Linked DNA regions of Homo sapiens: regions 2, 3, 4 and 5 are each linked to region 1. Evidence: promoter capture Hi-C in human tissues and cell types (Jung and others, 2019). All regions are on one chromosome and are shown on one strand. Each heading gives the region's core, a stretch centred on a gene start or on the middle of the fragment in contact. The rest is flanking DNA. Distances are from core to core; before and after follow the strand shown. Region 1 holds the start of AP1M1 (adaptor related protein complex 1 subunit mu 1). Region 2 overlaps MED26 (mediator complex subunit 26). Region 3 overlaps MED26 (mediator complex subunit 26). Region 4 holds the start of CALR3 (calreticulin 3). Region 5 overlaps EPS15L1 (epidermal growth factor receptor pathway substrate 15 like 1).

Region 1 (3,556 bases), core at 697-3,196:
GGAATAAGCAAGCCAAGACAGGCAGCCCACTGGCACCTCTGGGGAGGCAGTGGCCAGGGTGGAAGCAAGACTCATTCCACCAGGACTCATTCCACCGCACCACCCAGCCCCTGGCGTGCTCTAAGACGGGTGTCTTCCCTCCTTCCAAGAAGGCGGGGGAGGGAAGCCCAGCACTGGGTCTCACCAGTTGTTGACTTTGGGTGGCTTCCAGAGCAGGCACCCACTCAAGGGACTTCAGGAAAGTGCTGGGGGTGGGGTGGGGCGGGAAGGGGCAGCCATTTCACCTCTTCACTCTCAGCTGCTTTAGGGCTCACCCCTGCCCGCCTCACCTAGGACCTGACACCCATGTTTGTTTCTCTCACTGATCAATGTTGGGCTTCACATTGTTGGACCGGTTCTTGTTGCTTCCACATGCAACAGGCCAGGCAGCCACCTGCCTTGCACCTGGGATGGACTTAGGAGAAGGCAGAGGACCATTTCTAAAAGGTGGGGACAATCCCTTCTTAAAGTTTTCTCAGATCCTCTGGGGAAGATGCCTGGGTTCTAGTTTATGTCCAGCTCCCTGGTGTCTCTGGTCCATTTGTCACCCCTCCTCAGGGAAACCCTCTCTCATCCTCGGGCTGAGGCTGACTGTCTGTATAACACACTCGCCCCTCAACACCACTGCAATTGACATTTATTTGTGTTTTTGGAGATGGGTATCCATCTCCCCTACCAGCCTGTGAACACCGTAAGAACACAGATTGTTGAGCCCTGGCACATGACTCACACCTGTAATCCCAGCACTTTGGGAGGCTAAGACAGGTGGATCACTCGAGGTCAAGAGTTCGAGACCAGCCTGGTCAACATGGTGAAACCCTGCCTCTACTAAAAATACAAAATTTAGCTCGGCGTAGTGGCAGGTGCCTGTAATCCCAGCTACTTGGGAGGCTGAGGCAGGAAAATTGCTTGAACCCGGGAGGCGGAGGTTGCAGTGAGTGGAGATTGCACCACTACACTCCAGACTGGACGACTGAGCATGACACTATCTCAAAAACAAAACAAAAAAAAAGGGACTGTTTTTTGCTAAACACAAATCGACCCCAGGCTTAGTACCCTGCCCGGCATTAGTAGGTGCTCCCCAGATATCAGCTGAATAAACGAATGATTCTGGATCGGACTCCTAGACTTGCTACTTCTCTGTGACCATTGTGACCTTGGTCAGGTTGCTTCACCTCTCCATGCCTCAGTTTCTCCCTCTATAAAACGGCACTCGTGATCACCACTCACCTCACCTAATCCTTGTAACTCACTATCACAATGAACGTGGAGAAATTCCTACTGAGAGAAAGTGCACGATAAACAGAAGCTGTAACGCCCTGAGAAGGCGGGACTGGCTCGAGAGCACCCAGTCCCCGCCACGCCTCGCCACCCCCGGCCAAGGGTCGCGCAGCCCCTGGACGCCCTGCCTGGCTCCGAGGCCGGCTGCGGCCCCGCTTCTGGGTCCTCCACCGAGGCCCGAGCCCCCGGCCCCGGCGCCGGGGAGCAGAGGGCGGTGCAGTCAGTTACCTGGCAACGCGGTGGCTGCAGCCCACCGCGTTACGTAGCAACAGGGCGGGGATTACCCACTTAAGACCCCCGCCCGGTTACCCAGAAACAGGATGGGGCTCTCAGGTGAGGTCTACCGGCCTCTCTGCCTCACACCAGGATGGGGCTCATAAGCCGGTTACCTAGCAACAGGGTGGGTCCCCGCGGGCGGAGGCCCCTGCCGGTTGCCTGGCAACAGGGAGGGTGGGGAGCCCTCAGTACCTTGCCCTTCAGGTCCAGCACGTAGACGGCGCTGGCGGACATGATGGCTGCAGGAGGCCTCGGCAGCGGCCGAGGGCGGTGGCGGCGGCAGCGACGGTGGGGACTGCTGGGCGTTGAGCAAGGCCGGGCGCCGCCCGCGACAGCTCACCTCCACTTCCGGTTCGGGGAGCCGCGCGGGGACCGTTATGTCCGGTCCGGGAGGTGCTGTCAGGAATGCGCAGGCGCAGGACGGACTGTGCGCAGGCGCATTACGTCGTATGTAACCATGTTTCTTGCTCCCGCCAGAAGCATCCCGGAAGTAAGGCCCGGTGGGGCGGGGCCGACCAAATCAGGGCACCCAGTGGCCGCTGCCAGGCTGAGCTATGGAGCCAGAGCAGCTGGAAACGGCCTCCCGTGGGCCGAGTTAGGCGAGAGAGCCTGGTGGTGAAACCGACCTGGGGCCCAGCCCTATGGAGCTCACAGTCTGGTGGGGAAGTCTATGAAACAAGTGTACAGTCACCAATTGTGATAAGCTCAAAAGAGAGAGGTAAGGTCGTGGTTACTTGGAAAGAGGTCAAACAAACTTTCTGAATGGCAATCAAACCTTATCAACAGTCACCACCTGTCATTGTCAACATTTATCAATGAATGAGTGTGCCTGTTTATTGCCTGGAATGTTATGAAAACCAGCCTCACTGAACCTTGACCCAACATACCGTGTTTCATTTCTGCAAAGTTAGTAATCAGTAATGCAACTGGTGGCCCTTGATTAATCCATTGAGTCATATTTAATTTGCTTTTATGAACTCTTGGGCTTTGGAGAAATGCCTGCATTCTGTTCCAGTTAGCCATCATAGTACCCTGGGGATCCCAACCCTGCAATACCAGAGTGATTTACCCAGGATGCCTGCCTCTCACATCTTTTATTTTCTGTCTTATCTCCGTTTTGGCGTTTGGAAAGATGATTTTTGCAACTCGGTAATTATATAGTGTTTTGCTTAGGAAAGAAATGTGACCGAAACTCTAGAGAAGCAAACTAGAATGTTTGAAGACTGCTAAGTGACTCCTGGGCTGGAAGGATTCTTGCTCAAGGCACAGAGCAAGCAGCCAAGAGAGGGTTTTTGTTGTTTGCTTTTTTTTTTTTTTTTTTTTTTGAGATGGAGTCTCACTCTGTCACCCAGGCTGGAGTGCAATGGCATGATCTCGGCTCACTGCAACCTCTGCCTCCTGGGTTCAAGTGATTCTCTTGTGTGTCAGCCTCTCAAGTGGCTGGGATTACAGGCATGTGCCACCACACCTAGCTAATTTTTGTATTTTTAGTAGAGACGTGGTTTCACCATGTTGGCCAGGCTTGTCTCAAACTCCTGACCTCACGTGATCCACCCACCTCGGCCTCCCAAAGTGCTGGGATTACAAGGGTTAAGTTAAATATTAAAAGATAAGAGAGCCAGTGCCCTTATACAAAGGCTGGGATGTAACAAAAGCCCACCCAGAGTTGTGCCTAGGCCTTTCCTGGGCCTTGAAGCATGACAAGATAATGAAGGAATTCTTAACAGGACCCTTTTAGGATTAAACAAGCTTTATTGGCGGTCTGAAGAAACTCCTCAGGCCTCCACAAACAAGTTTATTGGGGTTTGAAGGAACTCCCCCAAACCTCCATGATTTAGCAGGAGATAAGATAAGGGTAATCACCCCAGCACCTGGACCCACTTAGATTAAGTAAATTTACTGAGGCTCCAGAGGAAGGTCTTCAGGACTCAGATCTTAGTTATGGGTTAAAAGACTATAA
Region 2 (3,556 bases), core at 546-3,045, 410 kb before region 1:
TATATGTCCTTGGACAAATCACATCAAATATTTATCAGTGCTATTAATACTCTCTATAAAGTGAGGACGTCCCTATCCTACTAAAGGTAAACAGTGCCTGAAAGGAAATTTAGTACCTAGTAGGTACTAAACATGTATAAGCCCCTTCTCGACTTTTCAGGAGCTAGGGGGTATTACACCCCTAGATGAGTTTGTAGATACTGAACTTTGATTTTCACAAATGCTGTTCTTTTTCAAGGGTAGTCTTTCCTTTAGTGTCAGCAAGGAGCAGTTACAAGACAACATTGCATAATTTACACATTTCTAAATGCTCCCTCGGGGGAAAACAGGAAGAAATTGGTTGTAGAACAAAATCCCAGACGTCAGGGTCCAGAGCCTCTTCCTTGGAAGAGGTGCTTAGGCTGAAATTCACAAGCAGGTTTAAAAGCTGCCTGTACTTTTCCAAATCTCTCTGTGCTGCAGTTGCAGGTGGGGATGATCAAAATACAACTTTGTGCACATGAAGCTGCCTTTCAGAAGCAATAGCCAATATTCTTCCTGTGTAGAGACATACTTTAGAATCAACAATTGTGGCTAGGCATGGTGGCTCCAGCCTGTAATCCCAGCACTTTGGGAGACCGAGGTGGGAGGATCGCTTGAGGCAAGGAGTTTGAGACCAACCTTGGCAACATAGTGACACCTTGTCTGTAGTAGAAATCACAAACATTAGGTGGGGCTGGTGGCATGTGCCTGTAGTCCCAGCTACTCGGGAGGCTGAGGTGGGAGGATCGCTTGAGCTGTGTAGGCTGAGGCTAGGGTGAGCCAAGATCACGCTACTGCACTCCAGCTTGGGTGATAGAGCGAGACCCTGTCTCAAGAAAAAAACCAAACACACAAAAAGTAATCATAATCATAAGATCTCCAAGATTTTACTGGACAGAAAAATGTTGACGTAATTGATACCTGGAACATATACCTTGCACAAAAACATGTGGGCAGAATGGCCTTGGTGGGTAATCAAGACTGGATGTTAAGCCAGCGGGTTGCTGTTTTATCTCTCCCGGCCTATCTCCTACCCCACCCCCAACAACCTGCATCACCCTGTTGGCAGGAGCTCAGAGCCACTGTCACCCTCTTGGAAACTATTTATGTAGCAAGAGGCATAGACATGCTCATGTCCTGTGACCCAGTAATTTTACTCTTGGAAGTTTATTTACAGGCTGAGCTTGGTGGCTCACGCCTGTAATCCCAACACTTTGGGAGGCCAAGGTGGCAGGATCGCTTGAGGCAAGGAGTTCAAGACCAGACTGACCAACATAACAAGACCTTGTCTCCATTTACTTCTTTTTTTTTTAATGAAGTTTATTTTTAAACAGCATGGGAGAAGCTTCAGAATCATGGTGCATCCACAGAGTCAAATAGCCTATAGCCGAAAGCGTGATTCTGAAGGCTCTATAGAAAAATGGGCAGGCCTTACCATGAGGGGGAAAGGAGTGGTTTTGTGACTCAGGCATCTGGATAGGCTGGATGCCTAAAGAACTAGAACTTGGGGTAAAATGGAAGCACTTGTGTTGGTTGGGGCAGGGGGAATGGGTTGGTTTGTTTTCCCCTATGCTCCATTGTCTTTTCAATTAAACTGTAAAAAAATGAAAATAAAAGTAGGCTGCTCTAGCCTGAAGAGCACTTGAGCACTATAGAGAGCAATCGGCTGTGGAGTGGATTGCGGGCCTCTATGTACTGCAATCAGTGGAGAGGATTAGTTCCCCTCTCATACGTTTCCGGAAGGTTCAGAACACTAGTGTGCAACATAACACTCCAGTCAAGGCCACCAGTCATGTTCTTCATGTTCCCAGAGGTCCATCCCACCAAAAATGACTGGACAACACCTGGTTTTCTCCACACAGTCAGTGAAGCCACACCCCATGGCTCTGCTAAACACCCTGGAGTGGTCCATGCCTCTGCCTTCCTCTCACCTTAGTCACCTACTCCACCTGTGAGGCCCGGGGGCTACTGCCAGGATGCATGTTCTCCAGCCCTCCTCTGCCCTCCATCTCGAGTCCAACCCTGGCCATTTCCCTCTTGGTCCTGTCCCTTCCATACCGATAAGCAGATGACACCACTGTCACTTCACATCCTTCAGTGGTTTTCCATCACCCTTAGAATAGACGCCCACATTCCTTATTGTCATGATCTACACATGCTACAGGCCTTGGGCCCTTCTTTCCTTTCTCAGCTTAACTTGAACCCTTGCCCTCATTCTTGTGGGAGAACCTTCTCCCTCATCCAGTTCTTGTGACAGTCGGACTTCTTCAGGCCTCTCCTGGCCACCCATTATACAGAGCCCATGCCCTCCTGCTGTCACACTGCTTTCAGCCTTCCATGTCATGGCACACATAGGAAACAGTGGCATCCACAGGGTGCAATGGGTAATTTGGAGGCGAGACTAGGGGAAAGTGCATGTGCTGTTTCTACCATAGAAATTATAAGGATGGTGGCTCACGCCTGTAACCTGTAATCCCAGCACTTTGGGAGGCTGAGGCGGGCGGATCACCTGAGTTCGGGAGTTTGAGACCAGCCTGACCAACATGGGGAAACCCCATCTCTACTAAAAATACAAAATGAGCTGGGCGTGGTGGCTAATGCTTGTAATCCCAGCTACCAGGAGGCTGAGGCAGGAGAATTGCTTGAACCTGGGAGGCGGAGGTTGTGGTGAGCCGAGATCACACCATTGCACTCCAGCCTGGGCAACAAGAGCAAAACTCAGTCTTGAAAAAAAAAAAAAAGAAATTATAAGGAAAATAAAATACAGGGTGTTAGGGAGCATAGTTAATACTGAACTTGTGTTGAATAACATTATGATTATTATTATTTTTAGAGGCAAGGTTTTGCTTATTATTATTATTTTTTAGAGACAGAGTCTTGCTCTAAAAACTTTACTTGTCCAGGCTGGAGTGCAATAGCGCAATCATAGCTCACTACAGCCTTGAGCTACTGGGCTCAAGGGATCCTCCTGCCTCAGCCTCCCAAGTAGCTGGAACTACAAGTGCTAGCCACCACACCTCACTAATTTTTGTATTTTTTATAGAGACGGTCTCGCTGTGTTGCCCAGGCTGGTCTTGAACTCCTGGCCGCCTTGGCATCCCAAAGGGTTGGGGTTACATGTGTGAGCGACCACACCCGGCTTGAATAACATTACTGAAATAACATTGCCTTTTTTTTTTTTTTTTTTTTTTTTTAAAGAGTGCTTGTGTCCAAGAACATAACTTTTATATGTTAGGGTGTGGGTTTTGTTTTTGTTTCTGTTTTGCTTGACTTTGATAATTGTTGTGGAGAAATTTTGTTTGCACAAGAAGGTGATAAAACTTGGAAGCATTTTTTTTAGTAAACATTGAAAAATTTATGAGTTGGCATTTCTAAAAAATCCAGATTCTTTAATCTTTTCATTTATATGTAATGTTGAAATACAATAATGCAAATGGACTTTAGTTTCATTCAGACTCTATTTCAAGCACTTCAAAATAATGAAGCTCTAATTTACATAAGGCATATACTAAGGTATAGACAGTGGTGTGCTGGT
Region 3 (3,556 bases), core at 773-3,272, 380 kb before region 1:
CTCTTTTCTGCTTTCCAGCATGGAAGTCGGTCTCCAGCCCAGGTGGACACAGCTCGTTCTGCCACATCCTTTTTTGACCTCCCTGGGAGGCCACCTTAGGTGCTGCCCTCCCCCTGTGGCCTGCCTCCCTGCCCTGAGGGTTCATGCTGGACTTAGCAGGCCTGGAGTCAGAGCGGGAGCCTCCCCTCAGCCACATACGAGTCCTGGTGTCTCTGTCACTCACAGAGGGCCACCTCCATGAGAGTGGGAGACCTGCCACTCCTGGGTGGGGGGTCAGTTGGTTGTTAAGGCAGGGTCCCCAGGGCCAGGGTCAGAAGCCAGCTCCTATTTTGCTCCTATGGGACCAGCACCAATTGGGTGCTAAGTGTTCTTTGGGACAGACTGTGGCCATCTATAAAGAGGCTCTGTGGAGCCTTCTGGCTCAGTGTGCCTGGGGTCGGGGCCAGGCCCTTTGCAGGGATTCCTCGCTGCATTGCTCAGTGTCTGCCTCCTGGGCCTGGGAGGCCTGTGTCTGGATGCCCAGGTGGTGCTCCCCACACAGTGTTCAGACTGCTTGACATCAATGCCCCAGAGGTCGCAGGGCAGGGCAGTCTCACCTTGCCCCCATCCTTAGCTCTGCTGACATCACTGACTGCCTTCTGCTGGCTCCAGGGAGTGGCCGCACTGGACACTCACCCTCTCTCTGTGTCTTACACAACACACATTTATCATCTCAGGCTCTAGGGCTCAGAAGTCAGCTCCAGTCTCACCGGGCTGGGATCCAGGAAGCAGCGAGCTGCGCTCCTCTCTGGAGGATCCATTTTCTGCCCCTTCAGGTGTTGGCAGAGTTCATCTGTTTACGGCGTAGGACTGTGGGTTTCTAGCACCTTACAGGTAGAGCAGGCGGGCTCCTCTACTCCTCAGGTGAGCAGCTCACACGGTGGGGACAGAAAGGGGACTGCCAAGGCTGTAGCATTTCCCTTGGGGCTCCTAGAGGCTGAAGGCCTCTCTGCACACGCTTAAGCGTGGCTCATAAGGCAGGGGAGGGGCCAAGGGTAAGGATACACAGTCACAGGGCCCTCACACCTTCGCCTGGTGTCCCCAGCTCCCACACAGTTTCCAGGAGACTCTTGGGACTGGCTGTTAGTTCAGCGGTGATTTCTGGGGCACCAGCTCAGTACCAGACCCTGGGGTTGCCCAGGTGTTCTGTCTCCTCCCTCTTGTCTGGCAGCAGGATGGTGTCTGCCCAAGGACAAGGACACTTTGTGCCACCAGGCTAGCTGGGTCTGGGCAGTGTTCTGCTCTGCAAGGACTGCTGCTTCAGGAGTATGTGGGGAACCAGGGCTCCAAATATACCAGGGTGAGGTCAGCAGGGTGGAGGTGAAGCCATGTGGCAAGCCCAGGGACTGAGTCGGTGCTGGAGTGCCTGGGGCAGGGAGTGGTTGGCCTTGCTGTCTGTCTGGGACTGGCCTCCTCATCGCACAGTCTTCCCCTGCACTGATCCCTGCCCATTGCACGAGGAGTGCGGACAGGACTGTATCTCCCCTCATATCACCCGTCCACCCCCACCATGACACAGCTTGAAGCAGGGTTTTCAGGGTCATTTGGAGCCCTGAATGGAGAACATTGCAAGGCAAGGCCGTTGTTGCCAAAGAGCAAATGGGCCCATTGGCAGGGCAGCTTTGTGGGAGTTCTGCGGGGACTGCTGTCGTGGCTCTGCAACTTTACACCCAGAGGAGACAACACGGGAAGGGAGGGAGTGGCAGTGGCTGCCTCCCACTGGAAGTGGGGCAGAAGAGTAGAAAAGCCAGAATCCATGAGGCCAGCAGAATTAACAGCCCTCAAGGACGTCCACATTCTAGTCCTGGAGCCTGGGCACATGGTACCGTACATGACAGATGTGACTAAGGGAACAGCCTGGAGATGGGGAGGTGATCCGAGATCATCTGGGCAGGCCCTGCCTAGTCAGGGAGTCCTTAGAGATGGCACCTATCCTGGCTGGGTCAGAGAGATGCCGGGTGAGGACTCAGCCTGTAGCTGGCTTTGAGCATAAGGGGAGGGGGTGTGAGCTGGATGCAGTGCCCTCCAGAAGCTGGGAATGGCTTCGGATGACAACCAGCAAGAAAATGGGCCTCATTCCTGTAGTGTAAAGAGCTGAACTCTGGGCCGGGTGCAGTGGCTCACGCTTGTAATCCCAGCACTTTGGGAGGCCGAGGAGGGCAGATCACCTGAGGTCAGGAGTTCAAGACCAGCCTTCAACATGGTGAAACCCTGTCCCTACTAAAAAAAAATACAAAAATTAGCTGGGCGTGGTGGCGGGTGCCTATAATCTCAGCTACTCGGGAGGCTGAGGCAGGAGAATTGCTTGAACCCAGGAGACGGAGGTTGCAGTGAGCCGAGATCGTGCCATTGCACTCCAGCCTGGGCGACAAGAGTGAAACTTCATCTCAAAAAAAAAAACAAAATAAGAGCTGAACTCTGCTAACACCTGAAGGAGCAGGAAATGGATCCTCTAGAGAGGATCCCAGCCCAGTGAGACTCAGACCTGATTTCTGAGCCCTAGAGCCTAAGATGATAAATGTGTGCTGTGTAAGATGCTAAGTTTACAATCATGTGTTACGGAAACTCTTGCCACGCAGTCTTGGCAAGGATGTGGCCTGGTGGGAATGGAATAGAGCAGCCTCCCTGGGGGTGAGGTGACCACCCTGCATGGATGTGGAGCCCCAGCTCCTCCATGGCTGTCTGTGCACTAGCTCAGAGTCAGGTCTGTCACTGCCGTCGGTTGCAGCCTTATTTTGTAATGGCGGACGGAAAGTGCCTAAGTGTCCCACAGCATTCAAGTCGGGCCTTCCCCACTCTGGAAGGGATGGTGAGCCAAATGAGGGGCTCTGTTTGAGGCTGGACATTGCTGACATTAAGTCAGAAAAGGCAAGAACCACTGTCAGTTTGGTTTTGAAATATGTGATAAGTGTGGATGTATACGCCTATATACACAAGGGATATTTTTGGAAAAAAATGCAAGGAAATGCTACAGTGGCTGGGTCAGAGATGCCCATTTCCTTGTGTGCCCTTTTATGCTGTTTTAATTTGTATCATGTGCCCGCTTAACTCCTTTATCATGTTGGGGTGGGGGGGAGTTGAGTAATCTACTCACTGTGGTTTCCTCAGGGCCCCTGGGCTCCCACCCGCTAGCCAGCCCACCAGAAACCTGTAGTTGCTGGAGGTGGTGGTTGAGTGGTAGGAATTCTTGTTGTAACAATTAAGGGAGTCAGTAATGTGTGGGAAGTGCTTAGAACAAGGTGTGGCTCCTAGCAAGATCCTAAAAGGGAGGGATTACTTGGTCATGGGATGTGTTCATGCTTCACTCTGCCAGACAAAGCCCAGCAGTCCCCAAAGTCAGCTGTATCCCCCGAAGTACCTAGTGTTGTCAGTGGGGCACGTGTATCATGTATCCATTTGTGGGTTCAGTTTGAGTTTTCCTGATTATCGATAAAGCTGAGAGGCTGAGCATCAGCACTGACATTTCATTGCCGTGTGCCTGTTCCTGTCTTGTGGCCAGTCTACGCCGGGCTCCTGG
Region 4 (3,556 bases), core at 765-3,264, 300 kb before region 1:
CAGGGATTCCACTCCCATGTGGCCCAAGAGAAATGCAAATGTATGCAAATGTTCGTAATAGTTTTGTTTTGTTTTGAGACAGGCTCTCACTCTGTTGCCCAGGCTGAGTGCAGTGGTGTTATCATGGCTCACTACAGCCTCGACCTCCCGGGGTCACGCGATCCTCCCACCTCAGCTTCCTGGGTAGCTGGGACTACAGACACACATTGCCATGCCTAGCTAACTTTTTGTAGAAACAAGGTCTCACTGTGTTGCCCAGGCTGTTCTCAGATTCCTGGGGTTCTAGAGATCCGCAGCCTCAGCCTCCCAAAATGCTGAGATTACAATCCCACATCATCATACCTGGCCCCATAATATTTATTACTCCTAGTAGACTAAAACGGAAAACAATGTAACTATCCATTAATTAGTGAATGGATTACAAACTATGGTCCATCCATACAGTGTAATACAGTTCAGCAATTTAAAAAACAAATACTAATATAACAGCACGCAGGAATCTCAAATACATCACGCTAAGGGAAAGTAGCCAAGCCGGGCGCAGTGGCTCACGCCTGTAATCCCAGCACTTTGGGAGGCTAAGGCGGGCGGATCACGAGGTCAGGAGATCGAGACCAGCCTGACACACATGGTAAAACCCCGTCTCTACTAACAATACAAAAATTAGCGGGGCGTGGTGTCATGCGCCTGTAATCCCAAATACTCAGGACGCTGAGACAGGAGAATTGCTTGAACCTGGGAGGCGGAGTTCGCAGTGAGCCGAGATCGCACCATTGCACTTCAGCCTAAGTAACAGAGCGAGAATCTGTCTCAAAAAAAAAAAAAAAAGGAAAGAAAAAAGAAAGTAGCCAGACACTAAACTCCACACACCCTATCATTTCATTTGTAAGAACTGTCAAGAAAAGGCAAACCAATAAACTCAGAAAGCAGATCGGGCCGGTGCTGTGACTCACGCCTATAATCCCAGCACTTTGGGAGGCCAAGGCTGGCAGATTACGTGAGGTCAGGAGTTCGAGACCAGCGTGGCAAACATGGTGAAACCCCATCTCTACTAAAAATACAAAAAATTAGCCGGAGTGCAGTGGCATGATCACAGCTCACAGCAGCCCTTGACCTCCTGGACACAAGCAATCCTCCCTCCTGCCTCAACATCCTGAGTAGCTGGGACTACAGGCGCGTGCCACTACACCTGGCTAATTTTTTATTTTTATCTTTTTTAGAGATGGGGTCTCGCCAGGTTGCCCAGGCTGGTCTGGATCTCCTGGCCTCAAGTGATCCTCCCGCCTCTGCCTCCCAAAGTGCTGGGATTCCAGGCGTGAATCACCGCGCCCGGCCTGACGCAAAGTTCTAAAGCTGGATGAGCTGGATGGTGGCGACGGCTTCACAACTTTGTAGATTTACTAAAAATAACGGAGTCGTCAGCTTAAAAGTGGCGAACACTATGGTATGTAAATGAAGGCTCAATAAAGTTGTTACAAATCAACAAACCAAAACTTGAAAACCCTGGCGCCCCTGAGACCATCCTGCTCTTCTCCCCAGCTATGAAGCGACCCGCGCAGGACCATGCTCCAATAGACCCCAGACAGGGAAACTGAGGCGCGGGACCATCCTGCAGCGGCCCAACCAGCTCAGCCCCGGAGAAGGCCCCATTTCCCCGTATCCCCCTCGCGAGCCCGGACGCCCAGCTAGGTCACCTCCCCACCAGCCCTGCCGACCTCTTCCCACGCCGTCCATTCGCAGAGGCAGCCGCCACATTCACGCCTGAAGGAGCGGTTGCCCTGGGCAACAGAGCCAGAGCAGAAGAGACTACATCTCCCGGGAAGCACCGCGCCCCGCAGACCAATGGCGCCCCGAATCACAATCGCGGGGTGTCATGGGAGCGGTAGTTCCGGGGCGGGCCCAACGTGCCCCGCGCCGCAGCGACCAATGGGACCCTCAGGTCATAATCGCGAGTTGTGACGGGAGTTGTAGTTTCGGGACGCGCCTGAAGAGCCGCAGAGAGAGCTGGGAGCTAAGGGGTGGCGGCGACCGGAAGCGCAGTGCACACCCCCATGGCCCGGGCTTTGGTCCAGCTCTGGGCCATATGCATGCTGCGAGTGGCGCTGGCTACCGTCTATTTCCAAGAGGAATTTCTAGACGGAGGTGAAGGGGCCACGCCCGTGGTGGCGGAGGTGTAAGCTCCCCCATCTCCGCCCCCTAAGGCTGGCCAGAGTCGCCACGGGGTCCACGGCAGCGAACCCTCGAATCCTCGAGGGTCCCCTTCACCCTTCCCTTAGCCCAAATTAACCATTATCACCTCTAACCGGTGTTATTTCCCCTTCCCCACAGAGCATTGGAGAAACCGATGGTTGCAGTCCACCAATGACTCCCGATTTGGGCATTTTAGACTTTCGTCGGGCAAGTTTTATGGTCATAAAGAGAAAGATAAAGGTTAGTGTAGAATCAGGACCAAATTGAGCCTAATGTTACATTTCCATAGCAACCTCTCTAGGTAGTTGTGGCACAGCCAAAACGCTTTTATTCCCGTTTTACAGATGAAGACATTAAGGCAAAGGTAGAACTTAAGGGGCTCCTTTCCTTGTTTTTTTGTTTCTTCTCTCCTTTTTTTTTTTTTTTTTTTTTGAGACGGAGCCTTGCTCTGTTGCCCAGGCTGGAGTGCAGTGGCGCGATTTCGGCTCACTGCAACTTCCACCTCCCGGGTTCAAGCAATTCTCCTGCCTCAGCCTCCCGAGTAGCTGAGACTACAGGCGCGCGCCACCATGACCGGCTAATTTTTGTACTTTTAGTAGAGACAGGGTCCACGTTGGCCAGGCTGGTCTCGAACTCCTGACCTCATGATCCACCCACCTTGGCCTCCCAAAGTGCTGGGATTACAGGCATGAGCCACAACATCCAGCCTCCTCTCTCCTTTCTTTATTGCCAAAGATTCCTTTTTTTTTTTTTTTTTTTTTTTGGTAGTAGGAGTCTCGCTCTGTCGCCTAGGCTAGAGTGCAGTGGCACGATCTTGGCTCACTCAAACCTCCGTCTCCCGGGTTCAAGTGATTCTCTTGCTTCAGGCTTCTGAGGAGCTGCGATTACAAGCGTGCGCCACCATGCCCTGCTAATTTTTTTAGAGACAGAGTTTCACCACATTGCCCAGGCTGGACTCAAACTCCTGGCCTTAAGTAATCCACCTGCCTCGGCCTCCTAAAGTGCTGGGATTATAGGCGTGAGCCATGGTGCTTGGCCTATTATCATTATTATTACTTTTATTGGTATTAGGTCCCCTGAAGTCCAAGGAGACATATTCAGCTTATTTGGTATAATAAAATCATACTTGAAGCACTGTCAAATATGCAATGGTATTTAACCTTCTTTGGATTATATTTATATGAATGTGTTATTAGTAGGCATTACCAAAATTGCCCCTCTTAATAGACACTAGTCAAGTGCATTTGAGGATCAAGGGCCATGCCCCTCAGAAGGAAAAGGTTAGTGGGTACTTTTTCTCATTTTAATTTTCGTATTAAAAAGAAAAATAGGCCAGGCGCGGTGGCTCATGCCTGTAATCCCAGCA
Region 5 (3,556 bases), core at 546-3,045, 260 kb before region 1:
CTCATGGGTCAGAGGAAGGAAACAGATGGAACTGAATAGGTCTGTTCTCTGAGATGCCCGGGAGGGGTGATGTCCAGGGGACACAGGTCAGCAGCTGGGAGGGCTGCTCAGAGGCTTCATCTGCTTTTGCTCTTAAGCAGCGTTTTCAGGAGGGAGGGCTGGAATCTGTTCCCCTCCTGCCCGGGCGCCATTCCAGTTCCATCCCTTCTGCCCTCTGCATGGCTGCACAAGACCCTTGAGCCCTTCCCTACACGCCCGCCCCTCCATCCCTCCAGGACCCAGCTGCCCTGGTATTTCCTGTGGTGGAGCCTCCTCCCTCCCTCCCCGTGGCAAGCCTGTCTCTGGCACTGCTTTGGTGCGGGTGCTCCACAGCCTCGCTTGACTGAGTCTCCCTGGACAGGCTCAGCCATGGAGGGGGGGCCTTCCAGGTCTCCTGGTGCCCTGGGTGTATGTCTGCTGCTGGCTGCGGACTGGCCCTCCATCCTGTCTCTTCCATCTAGCTCTTGGCAGCCGTCTCTGTGCTTTGTCACAGCTCCATGAGGCTGTGGGTGGGGAATGTCCCGTTGTTCACCTCCACACCTGCACCAAGGTGTCTAGAATGGCAATTAGATTTCCACCTCAATGCCCCTGGGGACATCCCAAGGAAACACATTCGTTTTTAGGGAACTGGCATGTCCTCCTTCTCCGGGTGTCTGCATTGTGAGTCGCTGCAGTCCCCAGGCTGCTGGAGTTCTGCTGCTGGAGGGCCATGGCAGTCTCTCTCTGATCACTTCCTTCCAGCCCTGCTCCTTGCAGCGGATTTCTGCCGTTTACCATCTCATATGCATATGCGCCCACCTTGCTGGCCTGCAGGCACCCCCTCCCCATGTTCTGCTTGCCCTGGGGATGACATCCTGTCTTTTCAGCACAGCGTGCACAGACCCTGGCATCCTATGCACATGCCCTTCCACCTGACTGGGGCCGTGCTGAATCACCCACAGCTCACCTGTCTTCTCTGTCCCGGTGCACACCTGGCCCCAAGCCCTGAGTTCCCCTCACTGTGCCTACTGCTGCAGTCATATCATGCGGTCCCCTGTGCCATAGTCCTGGGCTGACTTTGTCCCGCCTGCCCTTCCTGAAGCCCAGGACTCTATTTTTTGTTTGTTTTGTTTTTGTTTTTGTTTTGAGATGGAGTTTCACTCTTGTCACCCAGGCTGGAGTGCAATGGCATCATCTTGGCTCACTGCAACCTCTAGCCTCCTGGGTTCAAGCGGTTCTCCCGCCTCAGCCTCCCAAGTAGCTGAGATTACAGGTACCCGCCACCACGCCCAGCTAATTTTTATATGTTTAGTAGAGATAGAGTTTCACCATGTTGGCCAGGCTGGTCTCGAACTCCTGACCTCATGTGATCCACCCACCTTGGCTTCCCAAAGTGCTGAGATTACAGGCGTGAGCCACCACGCCTGGCCTGAAGCCCAGGACTCTGTCCTACACACTTTTGTATCCTCAGTGCTGCCTCTTAGCACGAGTTCAGCATGTGTTGATTGAGTGAGCAAACAAATAAATTTCCAGGTCCAAAGAAGGGAGAGCTGGGGAATCCAAGGGTGGACCCTTTTTCAGGAGGGTTTTTTGTTTGTTTGTTTGAGACAGGGTTTTCCTCTTGTTGCCCAGGCTGGAGTGCAATGGCACAACCTCGGCTCGCTGCAACCTCTGCCTCCTGGGTTCAAATGATTCTTCTGCCTCAGCCTCCTGAGTAGCTGGGATTACAGGCCTGTGCCACCATGCCTAGCTAATTTTATATTTTTAGTAGAGACAAGATTTCTCCATGTTGGTCAGGCTGGTCTCGAACTCCTGACCTCAGGTGATCCACCCGTCTTGGTCTCCCATATTGCTGGAATTATAGGTGTGATCCACTGCGCCTGGCTTTCAGGAGGTTTTATGCGAAGGGTGGGGGGAGGTCAGTAGCTGGAGGTGGAAGAGAGATGGAGGGATGTTTCTGGGGAGAGGGTACATTTTTACCTGGAGCCAGTGGAAGGAGGGCGATGAGGAGGATACCAGGAATCACAACAGCCGGTGATTGACAAGTCCCCGGGGGTGGGAGTGCTCACCCTCATCTCCAGATGCAGAAGCTGAGGCACAGAGAGGCTGCTCGTCCTGCCCCAGGGTTGCACAGCATTCCAGCAGCAGGACAGGACTCAAATCCACATTTGTCTGGCAGCACTGTTGACCTCCACATGAGACAGCTTCTCTTAGTGAAGCAAGATGGGAGAACACAGCCCATAGGTGTAGATGGAGCTGGGCAGTCTCTCCTGAAGACGTTTAGGGCTCAGCATAGTCCTGCATCCTCCACAGGGCAGTGCATCGAGGCAGGAAGCCTGCTGCAGGCAATGTTTTTTCTCCAGCAGTTCTGTTTCTGGAATGCTGAGTTTGGTGCTCATGCCTGTAATCCCAGCACTTTGGGAGGCCAAGGCAGGAGGATTGCTTGAGGCCAGGAGTTCAAGACCAGCCTGGCAAAATAATGAGACCCCCCCAATCTTTACAAAAAAAAGAAAAAAAAAATTAGCCACACATGGTGGTGCATGGCTATGGTCCCAATTACTCAGGAGGCTAAGGCAGGAGGATCACTTAAGCCCAGGAATTTGAGGCTACAGTGAGCTATGGTCGTGCCACTGCACTCCAGCCTGGACAACAGAGCTGTCTCTCTTTTTTTTTTTGAGATGGAGTTTCGCTCTTGTTGCCCAGGCTGGAGTGCAATGATGTGATCCTGGCTCACTGCAGCCTCTGCCTCCCTAGTTCAAGCAATTCTCCTGCCTCAGCCTCCCAAGTAGCTGGGATTACAGGTGTGCGCCACCACACCTGGCTAATTTTATATTTTTAGTAGAGACAGGCTTTTACCATGTTGGCCAGGCTGGTCTCAAACTGCTGACCTCAGGTGATCCACCCACCTTAGCCCCCAAAAGTGCTGGGGTTACAGGTGTGAGCCACCATGCCTGGCCCAGAGCTGTCTCTTAAAAAAAAAAAAAAGAAAAAAGAAAGCTTTCAAACCTTGATTCTGTGTTCTGACGACCTTCCTGGTCCATGTCATTGACCTTGCTGCTTTGCTGCATGTCTAAATGCTCGGGGCAGTTCTCTTGCTTGTTGGTTCCTCTCCAGGGCAGCGACTGTAGGCCTTACCCCTGTGCCATGCCCCACTGTAGGCCCTGAGTTCTGTCTGGTTTGGATGGAGGCCTTGAGCCCCGAGCATGTTCGTCTTCTGCTGGTCTCACAAGGCACTCATTTGGGTCCCTGGGGAGAATCCATGAAAATTCCTTCAGATCCTGCTTTTCCTTGCACATCTTTCTATTTCTGTCTAATTTACAAAAGCAGCTCATGCTGACATAGTACACCAGGGAACATAGGAAGCCATGAGGAAGCAAACTAGCTGGCCCGTAGAAATCCTGGTAAGCATGGCCCTGTCCCGCCAGGTTCCAGTAGCGGGGCGATAGGATACCGTGTGCTTATAAGCCAGGTCACACACTGCACCTGCTAGATTGCCCCCTTCTCATTTAGCAAGCTGATGAAGATTGGACCCCATTTG

The links. Contacts are between HindIII fragments. The study calls those that stand out against the background at their distance.
Region 2: a fragment that was not itself captured here is called in contact with the fragment with the promoter of AP1M1 in region 1 in 1 of the 25 tissues and cell types used here (liver).
Region 3: a contact is called between a fragment that was not itself captured here and the fragment with the promoter of AP1M1 in region 1, in 1 of the 25 tissues and cell types used here (liver).
Region 4: a contact is called between the fragment with the promoter of CALR3 here and the fragment with the promoter of AP1M1 in region 1, in 3 of the 25 tissues and cell types used here (lymphoblastoid cells, psoas muscle and spleen).
Region 5: a contact is called between a fragment that was not itself captured here and the fragment with the promoter of AP1M1 in region 1, in 1 of the 25 tissues and cell types used here (spleen).

What each region holds. Positions count from the first base shown.
Region 1 is chr19:16,196,301-16,199,856 of GRCh38, reverse strand. It overlaps AP1M1 (adaptor related protein complex 1 subunit mu 1), which reads right to left and starts at 1,946. Exons shown (of 12, transcript NM_032493.4): 1 at 1,789-1,946. The coding sequence starts at 1,830. RefSeq lists a silencer at 1,563-1,802. The HindIII fragment of the contact is 7,648 bases long and covers 1-3,556 here.
Region 2 is chr19:16,609,601-16,613,156 of GRCh38, reverse strand. All of the region lies in intron 1 of MED26 (mediator complex subunit 26), which reads left to right. Among named protein-coding and RNA genes, the nearest start is that of MED26, 17 kb to the left of the region's middle. The HindIII fragment of the contact is 6,796 bases long and covers 1-3,556 here.
Region 3 is chr19:16,579,258-16,582,813 of GRCh38, reverse strand. The region is part of intron 1 of MED26 (mediator complex subunit 26); the gene reads left to right. Among named protein-coding and RNA genes, the nearest start is that of SLC35E1, 8.6 kb to the right of the region's middle. RefSeq lists enhancers at 1-252, 253-824 and a silencer at 1,002-1,051. The HindIII fragment of the contact is 7,303 bases long and covers 1-3,556 here.
Region 4 is chr19:16,494,625-16,498,180 of GRCh38, reverse strand. CALR3 (calreticulin 3) reads left to right here and starts at 2,014. Exons shown (of 9, transcript NM_145046.5): 1 at 2,014-2,142; 2 at 2,329-2,430. The coding sequence starts at 2,052. It overlaps C19orf44 (chromosome 19 open reading frame 44), which reads right to left and starts at 1,787. Exons shown (of 9, transcript NM_032207.4): 1 at 1,716-1,787. RefSeq lists enhancers at 1,685-2,114, 1,749-2,249, 2,250-2,750. The HindIII fragment of the contact is 12,389 bases long and covers 1-3,556 here.
Region 5 is chr19:16,454,267-16,457,822 of GRCh38, reverse strand. The region is part of intron 1 of EPS15L1 (epidermal growth factor receptor pathway substrate 15 like 1); the gene reads left to right. Among named protein-coding and RNA genes, the nearest start is that of EPS15L1, 16 kb to the left of the region's middle. RefSeq lists enhancers at 518-1,276, 2,720-3,219. The HindIII fragment of the contact is 6,990 bases long and covers 1-3,556 here.